Regions from separate parts of the Homo sapiens genome. Here region 1 is linked to region 2. The links are contacts of gene promoters, found by promoter capture Hi-C in blood cells and fetal thymus (Javierre and others, 2016). All regions are on one chromosome and are shown on one strand. Each heading gives the region's core, a stretch centred on a gene start or on the middle of the fragment in contact. The rest is flanking DNA. Distances are from core to core; before and after follow the strand shown. Region 1 overlaps WBP1L (WW domain binding protein 1 like). Region 2 holds the start of CYP17A1 (cytochrome P450 family 17 subfamily A member 1).

Region 1 (3,208 bases), core at 226-2,725, 87 kb after region 2:
CAGCATCCCTGGCCTCCACTCACTAGATACCAGTGGCACTCCCAAGCTGTGACAGTGACTAATGTCCTCTGGAAGGACAAAATTCTCCCCAAACCTAAATTCAGACATAGAACAGAATAAAGAAAGTCACTTGCAAAATCTCCAGATCTCAGTTCCTGAAGTTAGTCTGGGAGTTGACACTAACTTACAAACCATAATACACTCTGAGGACTGCCAACAGCAATAATGGTGATAATTATTATTATACTTATTAATCATTGAATATATTCCAAGAGCTTTACATATATTATGTCTTTTCACCTCATGACAACCCCATACTAGTACAATTCCCATTTTATAGATGAGGAAGCTGAGGCACAAAGAGGTTATGTAACTTGCTCAAGGACAGTATCAAATTTGGAACTCAGGTGGTCTGACCCCAGAGCTCATGACATGACCACTAGGTTTGACTGTACCAAATCCCTACTCTGGAAAGTTGTTAGATCAGTATCCTCCAATATGTAGTCACTATCTACATACAGCTATTTAGTTTAAATTATTTTAAGTAAATATCACATTGGCCAGGTGTGGTGGCTCACACCTGTAATCCCAACACTTTGAGAGGCCAAGGCGAGCAGATCGCTTGTGCCCAGGAGTTCAAGACCAGCCTGGCCAACGTGGTGAAACTCCATCTCTACAAAAAATACAAAAATTAACTGGGTGTGGGTGCGCACCTGTAGCTCCAGCTACTAGGAGGGCTGAGATAGGAGGTTTGCTTGAGGTGGAGATTGCAGTGAGCTGAGATTGCACCACTGCACTTCAGCCTGGGCAACAGAGGGAGATCGTGTCTCAAAAAAAAAAAAAGGAAAGAAAAAAGAAAACCTTGATTGGGCGCAGTGGCACACACCTGTAATCTCAGCACTTTGGGAGGCCAAGTCGGGCAGATCGCCTGAGGTCAGGAGTTCGAGAACAGCCTGGCCAACATGGCAAAACCCCATCTCTACTAAAAAATACAAAAGTTAGCTAGGCATGGTGGTGCATACCTGTAGTCCCAGCTACTCAGGAGGCTGAGACAGGAGAATCACTTGAACCCAGGAGGCAGAGGTTGCAGTGAGCCAAGATCACACCACTGCACTCCAGCCTGGGTGACAGAGTGAGACTCTGTCTCAAAAAAAGAAAGGAAAACCTTATGGTAAGTGAAATAAGCCACAAAAGACCACATAGTGTACCATTCACTTTATATGAAATGTCTAGAACAGGCAAATCCATAGGAATGGCAAGTAGATCAGTGGTCACTAAGGGATGGAAGAAAAGGGGCTAGAAAGGGAAGTGACTGCTAATGGCTATGGGGTTTCTTTCTGGGGTAAAGAAAATATGCTAAAATTGGGCCGGGCGTGGTGGCTCACACCTGTAATTCTAGAACTTTGGGAGGCTGAGGCGGGCGGATCACAAGGTCAGGAGATCGAGACCATCCTGGCTAACACAGTGAAACCCCATCTGTACTAAAAATACAAAAAATTAGCCAGGTGTGGTGGTGGGCACCTGTAGTCCCAGCTACTCAGGAGGCTGAGGCAGGAGAAGCGCTTGAACTCTGGAGGCGGAGTTTGCACTCCAACCTGGGCGACGGAGCAAGACACCGTTTCAAAAGAAAAAAAAAAAGAAAATATGCTAAAATTAGCACTGATAGTCACAAATTCTGTGACTATACTGAAACACCAATTTATGTATACTTTAAAAGGGTGAATTTTTTTGGCATGTAAATTACCTCAATAAAGTTTTTTTTTCTTTTTTTGAGACAGGGTCTCACTCTATCGCCCAGACTGGAGTGCAGTGGCGTGATCTAGGCTCGCTGCAGCCTCTGCCTATGGGGCTCAAGCGATTCTCCTGCCTCAGCCTCCTGAGTAGCTGGGATTACAGGTGCACGCTAATTTTTCTATTTTTGGTAGAGATGAGGTTTCACCATGTTGGCCACGCTGGTCTAGAACTCCTGACCTCAAATGATCCACCCGCCTCAGCCTCCCAAAGTGCTGGGATTACAGGTGTGAACCACTGCGCCTGACCTGATTATATCTCAATAAAGTTGATATAAAAAATTAAATATGGGCAGCCAGGCGTGGTCGCTAACGCCTGTAATCCCAACACTTTGAGAGGCCAAGGCGGGCAGATCATCTGAGGTCAGGAGTTCGAGACCAGCCTGGCCAACATGGTGAAACCCCGTATCTACAAAAAAAATACAAAAAAAATTACCCAGGCATGGTGGCAGTGCTTGTAATCCCAGCTATTTGGGAGGCTGAGGCATGAGAATCCCTTGAACCCGGGAGTCAGAGGTGGCAGTGAGCCAAGACTGCACCATTGCACTCCAGCCTGGGCAACAAGAATGAAACTCCATCTCAAAAAATAAATAAATAAATAAATAAATATGGAGGGCCAGGAACAGTGGCTCACGCCTGCAATCCCAGCACTTTGGGAGGCTGAGGCAGGAAAATCACTTGAGCCAAGGAGTTCAAGACCAGACTGGGCAATATAGTGAGACTTCTGCTCTATAAAAAAATTTTTTTAATTAAAAAAAATTAGGCCAGGCATGGTGGCTCACGCCTGTAATCCAAACACTTTGGGAGGCCAAGGTGGAAGGATCACTTGAGCCCAAGGAGTTCTAGACCCACCTGGGCAACATGGTGAGACACTCATCTCTACTTAAAAAAAAATTTTTTTTATTAGAGAGAAAAAAAAAAGAAAAAAAATTAAATATAGGGCCAGGTGTGGTGGCATGCACCAACAATCCTAGCTCCTTGGGAGGCTGAGGCAGAAGGATCGCTTGAGCCCAGGAGTTCAAAGCTGCAGTGAGCTACGACTACACCACTGCATTCCAGCGACAGAAACCCTATGGGCAACAGAGCAAGATTCTGTCTCTAAAAAATAAAAATATGTAAATAAACAAATATGTTTCAAAATTAAATATGTTTCAAAATTCAGTTCCTCAGTTATCCTAGCCACATTTCAAATGCTCAGCAGCCACCTGGCTAAGTGGCTACTGAATTGGACGGCACAGAGAGAGATCATTTCCAGCATCACAGAAGGTTCTACTGGATGGTGCAGCCTTAGATGAATGGATGAAAGGCCTCCTGACCATGTGACAACAGCCTCTCTTTCGAGCCTCCCCCACTTCCACACTCCTCTACACATCCACACACAAAGCTTCTGCCACAGAGTACATGTCACCTCCAAACAC
Region 2 (3,005 bases), core at 230-2,729:
GAAAGAGCCATATTTTCCTTCTTGAGAGAGGCTATAAATGGACATGCAAGTAGGGAAGATATCACTAAATTCTTTTCCTAGCAAGGAGTATTATTATTAATACCCTGGGAAAGGAATGCATTCCTGGGGGGAGGTCTATAAACAGCCGCTCTGGGAATGTCTATCTTGTGCAGTTGAGATAAGGACTGAGATACGCCCTGGTCTCCTGCAGTACCCTCAGGCTTACTAGGGTGGGGAAAAACTCCGCCCTGGTAAATTTGTGGTCAGACCGGTTCTCTGCTGTCGAACCCTGTTTGCTGTTGTTTAAGGTGTTTATCAAGACAGTATGTGCACCGCTGAACATAGACCCTCATCTGTAGTTCTGCTTTTGCCCTTTGCCTTGTGATCTTTGTTGGACCCTTATCAGTGGTTCTGCTTTTGCCCTTTGCCTTGTGATCTTTGTTGGACCCTTATCGGTAGTTCTGCTTTTGCCCTTTGTCCTTTCCCTCAGAAGCATGTGATCTTTGTTAGACACTTATTAGTAGTTCTGCTTTTCGCCCTTTGAAGCATGTGATCTTTGTACCTACTCCCTGTTCTTACACCCCCTCCCCTTTTTGAAACCCTTAATAAAAACTTGCTGGTTTGAGGCTCAGGTGGGTATCACAGTCCTACCGATATGTGATGCCACCCCCGGCGGCCCAGCTGTAAAATTCCTCTCTTTATACTGTCTCTCTTTATTTCTCAGCCGGCTGACACTTATAGAAAGAACCTACGTTGAAATATTGGGGGTGGGTTCCCCCAGTACGCTAGTCCTGCTGATGAGCAAAGAAGGTGTTGATGGCATTTTGATCAACAAGAAATGTTATGAAACGGCCTCCCACCTCTGGCATTCCTAGTACTGACCTATCTCTCCCTTCCCTTCCACCGCTCCCCACAGCTTAGCACCCCTTTCGTTCCCATACACATGTACATTTTTATTTTGGGGACCATTAACCCACAGCCCTTATCGCTGCCAAAACCACATGGGCTGGAGGGCCAGGGCTGCATGGACAGTCACACCACTGCACACCAGCCTGGTGATGGAGCAAGACTCTGAAAAAAAAAAAAAGAAGCATAAAAGACCTTTAACAGTCCCTGCTACTTGTGACCCTCCTGAATCTGTCATCTGTCCAGTGATTTTGATTTTGCAACATGGAAAGTTCCAAGCCTTGACTCCTGAGCCCAGATACCATTCGCACTCTGGAGTCATTCAAGCATGGGGAGCTCCTCAGAGGGTGATCAACTGACCTCCCTTACCTAGCTCCTCCTCCGGAGGTTTGCCCTGGAGTTGAGCCAGCCCTTGAGGAGGCCTTCACTCCCACCGCCTCTCTCCCTTCTGGATATGAGCTCAGGCCTGGCTGGGCTCCAGGAGAATCTTTCCACAAGGCAAGAGATAACACAAAGTCAAGGTGAAGATCAGGGTAGCCCTTTAAAAGGCCTCCTTGTGCCCTAGAGTTGCCACAGCTCTTCTACTCCACTGCTGTCTATCTTGCCTGCCGGCACCCAGCCACCATGTGGGAGCTCGTGGCTCTCTTGCTGCTTACCCTAGCTTATTTGTTTTGGCCCAAGAGAAGGTGCCCTGGTGCCAAGTACCCCAAGAGCCTCCTGTCCCTGCCCCTGGTGGGCAGCCTGCCATTCCTCCCCAGACACGGCCATATGCATAACAACTTCTTCAAGCTGCAGAAAAAATATGGCCCCATCTATTCGGTTCGTATGGGCACCAAGACTACAGTGATTGTCGGCCACCACCAGCTGGCCAAGGAGGTGCTTATTAAGAAGGGCAAGGACTTCTCTGGGCGGCCTCAAATGGTAAGTGGTGCCCATCTCCTCCCTGCCCCCTTCACCACCCCCTGGGATTGTTCAGGTCTTCAGACCATGCCTAGAATGGGGCTTCCAGCTCCAACAACCTGTAATTCTTCCCAAAGTAGACTAGTGGGATGATGTGAAGGGAGTGAACCTTCAGACCCCCACCCAGCCTCTAAATTAGGCAGGAAGAATTAAAGGAATGTCTCCTCTACCAGGCTGCCCAGGAGGTGGGATGGGAGGACCACAGTGGTCTGAGGGGTCAAGGAATCCTCACTCCACTCCTCTCTCTGAGCCTAGACTTCTCTAATGGACTGAGAAGGTGCATGTACAGCACTTAGCCTAGCACCCAGCACAGTAAGTGCCCCTTATACAGCCAGGATTCATGTTACTTTTCATGGAAAATGGGGGCAGTGACTACTGTCCTCCATGAAAGCTGCTGGGGAGAATTAGCCTAGCTATTGCAGGCTGGGATTGCTGCTTTCCTGGTGCTATTTCCAGCTACTCAGGCTCACAGGGGCAGTTTTCTACAATGACATTTCAGGGTTGCTGATGAGCCTCCCACTCAGCAGGGCCCCCAGCCTCTCAGCATTTTTTTTTTTTTTTTTTTTTTTTGAGACAGAGTCTCTCTCTGTCGCCCAGCCTGGAGTGCAGTGGCCAATCTCAGCTCACTGCAACCTCTGCCTCCCGGGTTCAAGTGATTCTCCTGCCTCAGCCTCCTGAGTACCTGGGACTACAGGAGCATGCCACCATGCCCGCTAATTTTTTGTATTTTTAGTAGAGATGGTGTTTCACCATGTTAGCCAGGATGGTCTCGATCTCCTGACCTCGTGATCCTCCCACCTTAGCCTCCCAAAGTGCTAGGATTATAGGCGTAAGCCACTGTGCCCTGCCAGCCTCTCAGCTTTGATCAAGCCAAGGGTTGGTTTATTTTTTCTTGGACCAATCAGCCAGGTCTGCTGACCAACTACCTAGCTCCCACCTCTGCTGGCTTCCTCCCGGGGGCAGAGAAGATGGAGAAGGCTAGTCATGTGGATCTTCAGGGTCAGGAAATGGAAAAGGGAGGCTTTGGACCCTTTTGCTTTGGGGGGCACCTCTAGGAGGAGGCGGCTCGGCCCAAGTCCAGACTGGGTAGACAAAACATCTGCACTCTCCAAATGTGGGCTTGTGGCTGGGTATGCAGG

What was found. Contacts are between HindIII fragments. The CHiCAGO score rates a contact against its expected background, and 5 or more counts as called.
Region 1: a contact is called between a fragment that was not itself captured here and the fragment with the promoter of CYP17A1 in region 2, in 2 of 17 cell types (M1 macrophages and M0 macrophages). The highest score is 5.7, in M1 macrophages.

Annotation. Positions count from the first base shown.
Region 1 is chr10:102,748,958-102,752,165 of GRCh38, reverse strand. All of the region lies in intron 1 of WBP1L (WW domain binding protein 1 like), which reads right to left. Among named protein-coding and RNA genes, the nearest start is that of WBP1L, 6.6 kb to the right of the region's middle. The HindIII fragment of the contact is 3,402 bases long and covers 1-3,176 here.
Region 2 is chr10:102,835,887-102,838,891 of GRCh38, reverse strand. It overlaps CYP17A1 (cytochrome P450 family 17 subfamily A member 1), which reads left to right and starts at 1,479. Exons shown (of 8, transcript NM_000102.4): 1 at 1,479-1,827. The coding sequence starts at 1,531. RefSeq lists a promoter at 1,240-1,519. The HindIII fragment of the contact is 11,808 bases long and covers 1-3,005 here.